Linked DNA regions of Homo sapiens: region 1 is linked to region 2. The links are contacts of gene promoters, found by promoter capture Hi-C in blood cells and fetal thymus (Javierre and others, 2016). All regions are on one chromosome and are shown on one strand. Each heading gives the region's core, a stretch centred on a gene start or on the middle of the fragment in contact. The rest is flanking DNA. Distances are from core to core; before and after follow the strand shown. Region 1 has its middle 4.0 kb from the start of INA. Region 2 holds the start of BORCS7-ASMT (BORCS7-ASMT readthrough (NMD candidate)).

The links. The method cuts DNA at HindIII sites, captures the fragments that hold promoters and counts their contacts. A CHiCAGO score of 5 or more calls a contact.
Region 1: a fragment that was not itself captured here is called in contact with the fragment with the promoter of BORCS7-ASMT in region 2 in 1 of 17 cell types (erythroblasts); the score reaches 6.4 in erythroblasts.

Annotation. Positions count from the first base shown.
Region 1 is chr10:103,269,968-103,276,281 of GRCh38, forward strand. No RefSeq gene overlaps it. Among named protein-coding and RNA genes, the nearest start is that of INA, 4.0 kb to the right of the region's middle. The HindIII fragment of the contact is 1,974 bases long and covers 3,879-5,852 here.
Region 2 is chr10:102,849,927-102,856,875 of GRCh38, forward strand. It overlaps BORCS7-ASMT (BORCS7-ASMT readthrough (NMD candidate)), which reads left to right and starts at 4,284. Exons shown (of 15, transcript NR_037644.1): 1 at 4,284-4,501. BORCS7 (BLOC-1 related complex subunit 7) reads left to right here and starts at 4,333. Exons shown (of 5, transcript NM_001136200.2): 1 at 4,333-4,501. The coding sequence starts at 4,361. RefSeq lists enhancers at 3,853-4,366, 4,349-4,408, 4,367-4,879, 4,479-4,668, 5,676-6,648. The HindIII fragment of the contact is 18,616 bases long and covers 1-6,949 here.

The DNA.
Region 1 (6,314 bases), core at 3,616-6,115, 420 kb after region 2:
ATAAGAAACTACTAAAGTGTTTTTCCAGAGTATGTGTACCATTTTACATCCCCACCAGCTTTTCTGGCGGGAATAAATTAGAGATCCAGCTGTTCTCCATCCTTGTAAGCACTTAGTATTGTCAGTATTTTGTGTTTAAGCCACTCTAGTAGGTATGTAGTGTCACATAATTGTGCTTTGAATTTGATTTCCTGATGGCTAGTTATGTTGAACATATTTTCATCTACTTATTTGCCATTTGTATATTCCCTCTGGTAAAATGCCTATTCAAGTCATTTGCCCATTTTCTAATTGGAATGTTCATTTCCTTTCTGTTATGTTTAGACAGTTCTTTTTTTTTTTTTTTTTTTTTGAGATGGAATCTCGCTCTGTCACTCAGGCTGAAGTGCAGTGGCGTGATCTCGGCTCACTGCAACCTCCGCCTCCTGGGTTCAAGCGATTCTCATGCCTCAGCCTCCCTAGTAGCTGGGATTACAGGAGCATGCCACCAGGCCCTGCTAATTTTTTTGTATTTTTAGTAGAGACGGGGTTTCACCATGCTGGCCAGGCTGGTCTTGAACTCCTGACCTCAAGTGATCCACCCACCTTGGCCTCCCAAGGTGCTGGGATTACAGGCGTGAGCCACCACGCCTGGCTAGAAAGTTCTTTACAAATTCTGGATACACATTCTGGATACATTTGTTGTCATTTGTAAATATTTTTGGCTTGTCTTTTCATCTTCTTCTTTTTTTTTTTTGAGATGGAGTCTCACTCTGTCGCCTGTTGCCCAGGCTGGAGTGCAATGGCACAGTCTCGGCTCACTGCAACCTCTGCCTGCCGGGTTCAAGCAATTCTCCTGCCTCAGCCTCCCGAATAGCTGGGACTACAGGCACGTGCCACCATGCTCAGCTAATTTTTTAGTAGAGATGGCTAGGCTTGTCTCGAACTTCTGACCTCGTGATCTGCCTGCCTTGGCCTCCCAAAGTGCTGAGCCACCATGCCCAGCCTTCATCTTCCTTTTTTTTTTTTTTTTTTTGAGACACAGTCTCGCTCTGTTGCCCAGGCTGGAGTGCAGTGGCGCGATCTTGGCTCACTGCAAGCTCTGCCTCCTGGGTTCATGCCATTCTCCTGCCTCAGCCTCCCGAGTGGCTGGGATTACAGGCGCCCGCCACCACGTCTGGCTAATTTTTGTATTTTTAGTACAGACGGAGTTTCACCGTGTTAGCCAGGATGGTCTCGATCTCCTGACCTCGTGATCTGCCTGCCTCAGCCTCCCAAAGTGCTGGGATTACAGGCGTGAGCCATGGTGCCTGACTGCCTTCATCTTCTTAACAGGATCTTTTGCAGAGCAAAAGATTTTAATTTTGATGAAGTTAAAAGCATTTTTTTTTTTATGAATCTCACTCTTGGTGTCATGCCAAAGACTTTTCCCAAGTGGTTATATGAGAAAGCATTTTCAACCCCTTTTTTCACCTCACATGTGTTTAATACTGTGATAGGTGCTGAGAGATATATATAGATGTAGAAGATGAGTTGTGCTCAAGGAGCTTCCAGTTCTATTCATCTATTTATTTATTTATTTTAATATTTAGAAATGGAGTCTCACTATGTTGCCCAGGCTGGAGTGCAGCGGTTATTCACAGGTGCAATCATAGTACACTACAGCCTCGAACTCCTGGGCTCAAGAGATCTTCCTGCCTCAGCCCAAGTAGCTGGGCCTATAGGTGTGCACTACTGCACACAGCTCCCATTTCAACTCAGACAAGCATACAAATAATTACAGTAGAAGACTATGTTCATTATGAGCCATGTGAGTGCTGCAAAGGCTATGGGTTTGAGGAGGAGAGTTCAAGGGAAGGATGGATCACCTTCCACTGGAGATACCAAGGAAGGCTTCAAGGAGGGGCGGCATTTGAGCCTTAAGGATCTCAACAGTTGAAGTAGGGCTGGGGGTGAAATTCCAGGAAGAAGGAACTGTGTAAGCAGAGGAACGAGTGGGACAAAGTGAAGATCAAGAAGCAAGGGGAGGGGGGAGGAGAAGAGGGAGATAATAAGTTCACTTTCAGATCTATGGTATTTGAAGACCAGCAAGCATTCACGAGGAGATATCCAACAGGCAGTTAGATATGTGTTTGGAGGTGGAAATTGGAAATAGGGGTTTGGGACTCATTGGCATAGGTCAGGGCCTTAGTTGTATGCCCCACAGCAACTTGTACTTGCCTTCAGAGCACTTGTCATAAGTGTAATTAACAATTAATGGTGTAATTAGCTGCTTAATCTCTGTCTCTCCTACTAGAATGCCACTCCCATGGAGGCAGAGCCCACATCTGCCTTATTCCTATGGAGAAGGCACCTACTCCAGGGGCCTTGGACATAAACATTCAGTAACTATTTGGTGAATGAATTAATTAAAGAAGTTGATACTTCTAACAGCTACCATTTACTGAACATGCACACAGCAGGCACTGTGATGTCTGCTTTGTATACATAATCTCATTTAAACTGCACAGTCATTTCACGAGAGGTAGGTCTAGGGATCTCAATCCCTTAGATTAAGTGGGTTATGGGTAAAGCCCAGGAATCTAAATTTAAGTTCTCAGGTAATTCTAATGATCAGCCAGGTTTGCAGAGCACTCTGGTGGATTGTTTTATTGAAATTTCACAGACAATTTCAAGAAATTACGGCTCAGCAAATAATAGTAATGTGTTTGAGGTCACCTGGCTAGATGCAAAACTAGATTTCTCAGGGAGAAAACTTTATAAGCCTCCCTGCTTCTGGGAGATCTAATATCGTAAAAAGAGAGTTGTTTATTATTATTATATTATTATTATTATTATTATTATTATTATTATTATTATTATTTTGAGACAGAGTTTCGCTCTTATTGCCCAGGCTGGAGTGCAATGGCGCGATCTCTGCTCACTGCAACCTCTGCCTCCCGGGTTCAAGCAATTCTCCTGCCTCAGCCTCCTGAGAAGCTGGGACCACAGGCATGTACCACCACACTCAGCTAATTTTTGTATTTTTGGTAGAGATGGGGTTTTGCCATGTTGCCCAGGCTAGTCTCAAACTCCTGGGCTCAAGTGCTCCTCCCACCTCAGCCTCCCAAAGTGCTGGGATTACAGGCATGAGTCACGGTGCCTGGCCTAAAAAAAGAGTTTACAAAGGAAGAGCGGAAGGCTAAGAACTGAGTCATTAAAACCAAGGAGAGTGGTCAGCACTGCCAAATGCCACAGAGAGACTGGAGAATGTGGCCTTAGGGAGAACTGGGGATGACTGACAACGTGTCTGTGGTGTCTGAGTGTGCCATCAGAGGAAGATGAAGACACAGCCCTGGCACACACAGGGAACTCCCTCAGGAGGCCTGGCCAGCTGGAAGGAGTTATGGATTGAGGCTCAGCCAAGATCACTCCTTCGCAGGATAGCTTTGTGCTAAAATTATTAAAGCCAAACATCTGGGCCTGTGGGGTGGGATGCCAAGAAAGAGGAGGCATAAGTCCCACAGGGGAATACCAGTTTGGAATCTCAGATAAGCTGTTGAGAAAATGCAAAATGCATCTTTGCCAGGGCAACTGTCACTCTGCTGAAATATTTAGGCCTTTTGCCTCACTTTCTTCTGTTCTATGTGTGTTTTGCCTTTGGGGTACTGATTCCACTGGAGGATGGGAAGGGAAAGAAAGCGGAACTCCAACCAGGACATTTTGCTGACTTTCAGTAGTAGTAGCCTGGAGACCTGTGCAAGGGTGTGATGGACTATTTCCTGCAATCCCCTCCCTAAACCCAATTCATATCCTGTTGCTGATGGATGTGAAACCGTTCCTTTCATTTGAAAGAGGATGATGATGACCATAACTCTTTATACCTACAGCTTAAAAGCACCTTCACATGCATCAGCTCAAGCTTTCATGACTCTTGGGAGGTAGGTGTTGTTATCCCTACATGCTTAGTAAGTGGCAGAAGCCACAATTCAAACCCATTGCCTCTGACTCTGAGTCCAATGTTCTTTCAATTACAAACCAGCATGCTGATTTGTTATCAGCCAAAACTCTTCCAAAGCCCACTTAGTCCTATTCTGGCTGCACAGAAATATTTTGTTTTTTTGAGACAGTTTCACCCTTGTTGCCCAGGCTGGAGTGCAATGGTGCGATCTTGGCTCACCACAACCTCCGCCTCCCGGGTTCAAGTGATTCTTCTGCCTTGGCCTCCAGAGTAGCTGGGATTACAGGCATGTGCCACCACCCTCAGCTAATTTTGTATTTTTAGTAGAGACAGGTTTCTCCATGTTGGTCAGGCTGGTCTCGAACTCCTGACCTCAGGTGATCCACTCGCCTCGGCCTCCCAAAGTGCTGAGATTACAGGCAGGAGCCACGGCAGCCGGCCGTGCTGCATGGAAATTAACAAGACTTCAAGAGTCTCACTGCAGGCTGGGCGCAGTGGCTGACGTCTGTAATCCCTGCACTTTGGGAGGCCAAGGCAGGTGGATCACCTGAGGTCAAGTTCAAGACGAGCCTGGAAAACATGATGAAACCCCGTCTCTAGTAAAAATACAAAAAATTGGCCAGGCGTGGTGGCTCATGCCTGTAATCCCAGCACTTCGGGAGGCCAAAGCAGGTGGATCACGAGGTCAGGAGTTCAAGACCAGCCTGGCCAACATGGTGAAACCCCATCTCTACTAAAAATACAAAAATTAGCCAGGTGTGGTGGTGGGCACCTGTAATCCCAGCTACTCGGGAGCCTGAGGCAGAGAACTGCTTGAACCCAGGAGGCAAAGGTTGCAGTGAGCCGAGATTGTGCCACTGCATTCCGGCTTGGGCGACAGAGCGAGACTCCATCTCAAAAAAAAAAAAAAATACAAAAAATAGCCAGATGTTGTGGCAGACACCTACCCGCTGACCTGTGGTGAGCCAAGATCACGCTACTGCCCTCCAGCCTGGGCAAGAAGAGCGCAACTCCGTCTCTCTTTTTTTTTTTTTTTTTGATGGAGTCTCGCTCTGTCACCCAGGCTGGAGTGCAGTCGCATGATTTCGGCTCACTAAAACCTCCACCTCCCGAGTTCAAGCAATTCTCCTGCCTCAGCCTCCTGAGGAGCTGGGATTACAGGCCCGTGCCACCACACCCGGCTCATTTTTATATTTTTAATAGAGACAGGGTTTCACCATGTTGGTCAGGCTGGTCTCAAACTCCTCACCTCAAGTGATCCGCCCATCTCGGCCTCCCAAAGTGCTGGGATTACAGGTGTGAGCCACTGCACCCGGCCAACTCCGTCTCAGAAAAAAAAAAAAAAAAAAAAGAGTCTCACTGCACTAAGCAGAATTATGTAGTGAAGAGAGAATGTATGCTTGTCTTTGCTTGCTGGTGACCTTGTGCTGCACCCGCACCTCGGTGCCTTATCTATAAGATGGAGGTGAGGGCCACCTTGAAGCATGGTTCAGAGGTAAACCTATGCAAAAGTGCCAGCACAAGTACTGGCAGACAATCATTACTCAGCAGTGTTAGCAATCTTTTATTGTTCACCTTACCAGGTCTTTCTAAGCCCAAAGACCTCAGAATTGAGTCCCTCCAACTCAAGGCTTTGGTCTGTGATGAGGAACCAGAGGGGCAGGCTGTGGCAGGGCCTGACCATCTTCCATGACATCAAGCACAAAGCCAAGAGATATGCTCCAAAGTCCCATAAGATCCCTTTTCACCCTTCCTTTAGTGGCCTGTCCCAAGCATATTCCCCTTTCCCCATGAAGTAAAACTTATCCTAGAACTACGTCCTTGAAGATTCCAATATCAATAAAAGGCCCTCAGTCTGGAATTCTGGGATATAACTAAAAAGGTCTTCCTACTCCCTCTCCAAAGCCATATCCACATCCTGAATGATATTAGAAGCTTGCAAGTGGGTACATATTACAGACGCCACACTGACCCCTCCCAGCCTTCATCTTTTCAGATTCCATTCTTTGATTCTCACCCCCTGCCCCACCAACCCTACCATGTGGCAGAAGAGGCCGGCTCAGTCACCAGCACTCTCCCCCACTCCTGGAGTTTAATCTTTTTGCAGGGATCTCTTTTCTCCAAAAAGAGATCTGCACAGGGAGTGGCTCTCTGAAGCCAGTTGAGAACCTGCCCTGCTGGATTTACACAAACTGAAATCTCAAATGCCCACAGGGTCAGAGAGGTAAAGTAAATGAATTAAGAAGGGGGGCGTAATTCAGTGGAGAATGGCAGGGACTGTAGTGAACAGGAGAGCACACTTCTTATACAAATGGCAAGGGCAACTCACCTCTGCCACTGTGGGCATCCCAGCTCTTCCCATTTTCAGAAGAAGCCAGAAATCCAATTTCTTTAC
Region 2 (6,949 bases), core at 3,034-5,533:
AGGCTGCAGTAAAGGTGTGGGCCAGGGTTGGGTTCCATCTGGAGGCTCTACTGGGGAAGAATCTGCTTCCTATGTGCCTGGTTGTTAGCAGGATTGAGTTCCTTTTGATTGTTGGACTGAGAGCTTTTTTTTTTTTTTTCCGCTGGCTGTCAGCTGGAGGCCCAGAGGTAGGTGACTAGATGGTACTTGCAGTTCCTTGTCACGTGGAGTTCTCCAACGTGGCCACTCGCTTACTCACAGCCGGCAAGAGAGAGAGGCTCTGGCAAGAGAGAGGCTCCAGCAAGATGAGGGGAATGGTGATGTAACATGTAATCTTATGTAACATCATCATGTGTTTCCTATCACCTGTGCATACACTATCGATTAGAAGCAAATCAAAGATCATGTCCACAAGGAAGAGAAGAGGATCACACAAGAGCAAGAACACCAGGAGGTGGGGTCAAAGGCTACCCTGAGCGGCCAGTCTGTCCACCACAGGTAGCTACGTGTTACCATGGCTATAGAACATTCCATCTTTTCCTAAGTTTGTGGATGTGGAGCAACTGGAGTGGCATACACTGCTATCGGAAATGTAAAGTGTTAAACCACTTTGGAAAATGGTTTGGCAGTTTCTTGAAAACTGAAACACTTACCATATGATCCAGCCATTCCACTACTAGATAGTTACCCAAGAGAAATGAAAACAACCCACATAAAGACTTGTGTACAAATGTTCATAGCAGAATATTCATAATATTCCAAAAGTGGAGGCCAGGTGTGATGGGCTTATGCCTGTAATCCCAGAACTTTGGGAGGGCAAGGCAGGAAAATCACTTGAGCCCAGGCAACATAGGGAGACCCTGTCTTTACAGAAAAAATTGTAAAAATTAGCCAGGCATGGTGGCATGAACCTGTAGTTCCAGCTATTCCGGAGGTTGAGGTGGGAGGATTGCTTGAGCCTGGGAGCTTGAGCTGTGGTTATGCCATACACTCCAGCCTGGATGACAGAGGAGTGACTCTGTCTCAAAAACAACGACAAAAACCAAAACCAAAAAACAACAAAACAAAACAAAAACCCAAAAGTGGAAACAACCCAAGTGTCCATCAACAAGAGAGTGAATAAACACAGTGAGAACTATCCATGCAGTGGAATATTTCTCAGCAATAAAAATGAACAGGCTAGTTATATGCACAACAACATGTCAAATCATCATGCTGCAAGAATGAAGCCAGACAAAAAAAGACCCCCCTCCCCTCAAAAAAGCCTGTATGATGCTATTTATTTGCCATTCTAGAAATGCAAATTAATCTATAGTTCCCAAAAGCAGGGCAGTGGTTGCCCGGGTGAGACAGAGAAGGAGAGATGGACTTTAAAGGGCACTTGGAAACTTCTGAGGGTGATGAAATGTTTTGCATCTTTTTTTTTTTTTTTTTAATTGAGACAAGGGGCCGGGCGTGGTGGCTCATGTCTGTAATCCCAGCACTTTGGGAGGCCAAGGTGGGCCGATCATGAGGTCAGGAGTTCAAGACCAGCCTGGCCAACATGGTGAAACCCCACCTCTACTAAAAATACAAAAATTAGCCGGGCGCGATGGTGCGTACCTGTAGTCCCAGCTACTTGGGAGGCTGAGGCAGGAGAATCGCTTGAACCCGGGAGGCGGAGGTTGCAGTGAGCCAAGATCACACCCGTGTACTCCAGCCTGGGTGACAGGGCAAGACTCCGTCTCAAAATAAAGTAAATAAATAATAAAAATAAATAAATAAAATGAGACAAGTTATCGCTATGTTGCCCAGGCTGCTGATATTGAACTCCTGGCCTCAAGCAATCTTTCTGCCTCGGCCTCCCAAAGTGCTGGGAATACAGGCATGAGCTACTGCTCCCACCCTGTTCTGTATCTTAATAGTGGTGGTGGTTCACAGATGTATACGTCTGTCACACTCATCAAATCGTACACTTTAAAGAATGTGGTTATTGTGCAGGCCGGGCGTGGTGGCTCAACGCCTGTAATCCCAGCACTTTGGGAGGCCAAGGCAGGTGGATCACCTGAGGTCAGGAGTTCAAGACCAGCCTAGCCAACATGGTGAAACCCATCTCTACTAAAAATACAAAAATTAGCCAGGCGTGATAGTGGGCACCTGTAATCCCAGCTACTCGGGAGGCTGAGGCAGGAGAATCGCTTGAACCAGGGAGGCAAAGGTTGCAGTGAGCCAAGATCGTGCCACTGCACTCCAGCCTGGGTGACAAAGCAAGACTCCATCTCAAAAAATAATGTTGTTATTGTACATAAATTATAACATAAATTCATGCACATAAACTCAATAAAGTTTATTAAGGACAAAAAGTAAACAGTAAATGAGATTCAACGGAGACATATGAATCTAGACACTTGGAAGAGGAAGTAATGTTGATATTGAATACAGGTAATTTTGAACAAAATTTTCAATACAATAACATTCTCACATCTTTTATTAACTAAAAAAGAAATGGAGCTACTTGAAATATTTTATTTTTTTTTTGAGACAGAGTCTCACTCTGTCGCCTAGGCTGGAATACAGTGGCATGATCTCGGCTCACTGCAACCTCTGCCTCCCGGGTTCAAGAAATTCTCCTGCCTCAGCCTCCAGAGTAGCTGGGACTACAGGTGCCCACCACCACGCCCGGCTAATTTTTGTATTTTTAGTAGAGACGGGGTTCCACCATGTTGGGCAGGCTGGTCTCGAACTCCTGACCTCAGGTGATCCTCCCGCCTCAACTTCCCAAAGTGCTGGGATTACAGGCGTGAGCCACGGCACCTGGCCTACTTGAAATATTTTACATATTAATTCACTTACAAGGTGGTTACCATCAGTTTGGTATTAATACAATAAAGAGGTTATCAATAAAAATTACTAGTGATGTTGAGCATTTTTCACATTTATCAGCCAGTTGATTTTTTTTTTTGAATTGCCTACTTGTGCCTTTTGCCAATTTTTCTATTAGATTGTTTTTCCTTCTTCATTTGTTTACAGGCCTATCTGCCTCATCAGCCTGGGAGTTCCACAGAGACAAGAACTGTATTTCATTTCTTTCTCTATCCCCAGCCTAGTACAGTGTCTGGTATTTAGTTCATGAAATGTTTGTTAAAATTGAATGGAATGAGGCCAGGTGCAGTGGCTCACGCCTGTAATCCCACCATTTTGGAAGGCCAAGGCTGGTGGATCATTAGATGTCAGGAATTTGAGACCAGCCTGGCCAACATGGTGAAACCCTATCTCTACTAAAAATACAAAAATTAGCCGGGCCTGGTGGCAAGCACCTGTAATCCCAGCTACTTGGGAGGCTGAGGCAGGAGAATCACTTGAACTCAGGAGGCGGATGTTGCAGTGAGCTGAGATCGAGCCACTGCACTCCAGCCTGGGCAACAAAGCGAGACTCCATCTCAAAAAAAAAATAAAATAAAATAAAATTAAATAAAATGAGACAAGTTATCGCTATGTTGCCCAGGCTGCTGATACTGAACTCCTGGCCTTGAGTGACCCTTCTGCCTCGGCCTCCCAAAGTGCTGGGACTACAGGTGTGTCACCATATGGATAGGTTGGCCTTGAACTCCTGACCTCAAGTGATCCACCTTGGCCTTTCAAAGTGTTGGGATTACAGGCGTGAGCCACCACGCCTGGCCCCTTGTCTCAATTAATCAAAAAAAGGCCTAGGCAACAGAACAAGACTCTGGGGAAAAAAAAATATATATGTATATATATATGTGTATATATATGTATATATATGTATATATGTGTATATATGTGTATATATATGTGTATATATATATATGTGTATATATATATGAATGGAATGATATTCTCATAACCCCTTGGAAACATTATTACTTCTGTTTAACAGATGAGGAATATAAGACAGAAGCTGAGTAATTTGCAGCCACACACTGCTAAATGGTAGCATTGGGACTGTAATCCGGGCCTTCTGATTCTTTTTAATTATTTGTATTAATTTTAATTTTATTTTATTTTTAAAGAGATGGAGTTTCGCTATGTTGCCCAGGGTGGTCTGGAACTCTCAGGCTCAGGTGATCCTCCTGCCTGGGTCTCCCAAAGGGCTGGGATTTCAGGCGTGCGCCGCCATGCCCTGCCGCAGGCTTTCCGATTCTGAACCATAGAGTCAATGAAACTGTCCTCCATCCCCTCCAGAGATGTTTGCCTGGACCCTGTTTTCCTCAGGATATCAATGAATAGTTCATGAGTTTAGTGAGCAAAGGTCAACCTCCATCAGGCGCATGCGTCCCTTCCTTTTCCCATGGAGGAAGAGACGCCTCTTTTCCTTCCGCTTTGCTTGTCTTTTGGCCCCGGCGACTCACCATCGTCAGTGCGCAACCGTTCGCTAACTGAAATGATGGCGACTGGAACGCCAGAGTCTCAAGCGCGGTTCGGTCAGTCCGTGAAGGGGCTTCTCACGGAGAAGGTGACCACCTGTGGTACTGACGTAATCGCGCTCACCAAGCAGGTGCTGAAAGGCTCCCGGAGCTCCGAGGTGAGCTGGAAGTGGACTCTCCCGGCCTGATAGTCCGGGGAGTCGCAGTCTTTCGTTGCTGTGGGAAGGAGGTCGCGTTGCATCTTGGGAATTGTAGGCTGTGAAGTACTTGCTATGAGTAGGTCTTCTTCGCGGAGGCGCGTGTTGCATTCTGGGGTGTGCAGTCTCTTTGGTTAGGGACAGTGTGTGAGGGTTGGGGGAAGAAGCGATGCCATGGGAACCTGTGCTTTAAAACAGCTCTTTGGGAGGCCGAGGCGGGCGGATCACCTGAGGTCGGGAGTTCGAAACTAGCCTGACAATCATGGAGAAACCCCCGTCTCTACTAAAAAATAATAATTAAAAAAATATATAGCCGAGCGTGGTGGCACATGCCTGTAATCCCAGTTACTTGGGAGGCTGAGGCAGGAGAATTGCTTGAACCTGGGAGGCGAATTATATATATAAGTATTATATATTACGTATTATATAATATATATACGTATATATTATATATAATGTGTATGTATATATTACATATATAATATACATATATATTATATATAATATATGTAATATATATTATATATATTTTCAACTAGAGGTGTTTATAGTTAACCACCTGTAAATATTCAACATATTCATCATAATAAACGTACATTTATTTAGCATTTTATATATGCTAGACACTGTTGTCTTTTATGGAGTTTAATTCATGAAGTCTTTAGAATGACTAATTGAAGGAAGTACTTTTCCTTTTTTTTTTTTTTTTTTGAGACGGAGTCTAGCTCTGTCGCCAGGCTGGAGTGTAGTGGTGTGATCTTGGCTCACTGCAACTTCCGCCTCCTGGGTTCAAGTGATTCTCCCGCCTCAGCCTCCTGAGTAGCTGGGATTACAGGCACGCACCACCACACCTGGCTATTTTTGTATTCTTAGTAGAGATGAGGTTTCACCATGTTGGCCAGGCTGGTCTCGAACTCTTGACCTCATGATCTGCCTGCATCAGCCTTCCAAAGTGCTGGGATTACAGGCGTGAGCCACCGCTCCTGGCAGCATTGCTTCTTGAGCAGTCTCCACATAGCTATTTTGTTTGATTAGCTGAGAATTTCATGTGTAAAAAACTCATTCCACAGTATTCATTTAACAAATACTTATTGGGTGTCTGCTATGTGCCAGGAACTGCTCTAGGTACACGGAATAAACAAAACTAAATCCCTCTACTTGGGAAGTTTACATTTTAGTGAAGAGACAGACGATAAACAAGTGAAACAGAAAAAAATCAGGTGGTGGTAAATCCTGTGAAGCAAAATTAATCTGGGAATAGAGAGTGATGAAAGGGTTAATCTTTGTTTGTTTGTTTGTTTTGAGACAGAGGAGGAGTCCCACTAGCTCTGTCACCCAGGCTAAAGTGCAGTGGCCCGATCTCGGGCTCACTGCAACCTCTGCCTCCTGGGTTCAAGCGATTCTCCTGCCTCAGCCTCCTGAGTAGCTGGGATTATAGGCGCCTGCCACCACACCCAGCTAATTTTTGTGTTTTTAGTAGAGATGGGGTTTCACCATGTTGGCCAGGCTGGTCTCAAACTCCTGACCTCAAGTGATCCTTCCCGCTTTGGCCCCCTAAAGTGCTGGGATTACAGGCATGAGCCACCACACCCGGTCGAAAGGGTTAATCTTAAACAGATGATCAGGGAAGGGGTCTCTGGGGAGAGAGCCTGTGAGGAGAAACACACTGACATTTGCCCACAGCATAATGAGTGGTTATGACTCATAGGCTTGTCTCTTGCATGCCTGCGCTTCTCCTCCTCCATTTGAGTTGTGTGCTTAGTGAGGGTCCATTGTGTTTTTTTCTAAACATCATGTGTCTGTGGGCTGGGCGCAGTGGCTCATGCCTGTAATCCTAACACTTTGGGAGGCCGAGGCAGGATTGCTTAAGCCCAGGGGTTCGAGACCAGCCTGGGCCACATAGTGATATCTTGTCTCTGTAAAAAAAGGAAAAAAAAAAAGAATGAAAACAATTTTTTAAATGTGTGTATGGCACTTATGCTTACAGTTGCAACTACGTAATTTAATGAAATAATACGAAAAATGAAATATGAGTACCAAAAAAGAGGGTTGCTATTGCTATGAAAACTAAGTTGAAAATCAGAAACACTTGTTGAAGATGAGTAGCTAAGACAAATTGTTATTGAGTTAATTATGAACAAGTTAATGGTAAAAGCCTAGGAGAAAAATTTATAGAAATCTAAAAAGATTCTGTAGTGAAGATTGTTTTACAGGTGTATTCAAGATGTTCTTCCATTTTAAAGAAAGCAAAACTAGAAATCTCAGATGGTATGTTATGTGTCTGGTCTGTTTATGTAGGAAAGTGATGCAGAATGCCAATGAATATATCAAGGAAAAGCCTTGGCTTTACATTACAACAGCCCCTGCCTTCAAGGCAACCACAACTCCCATTGAGTCTGTTTTCTAAAT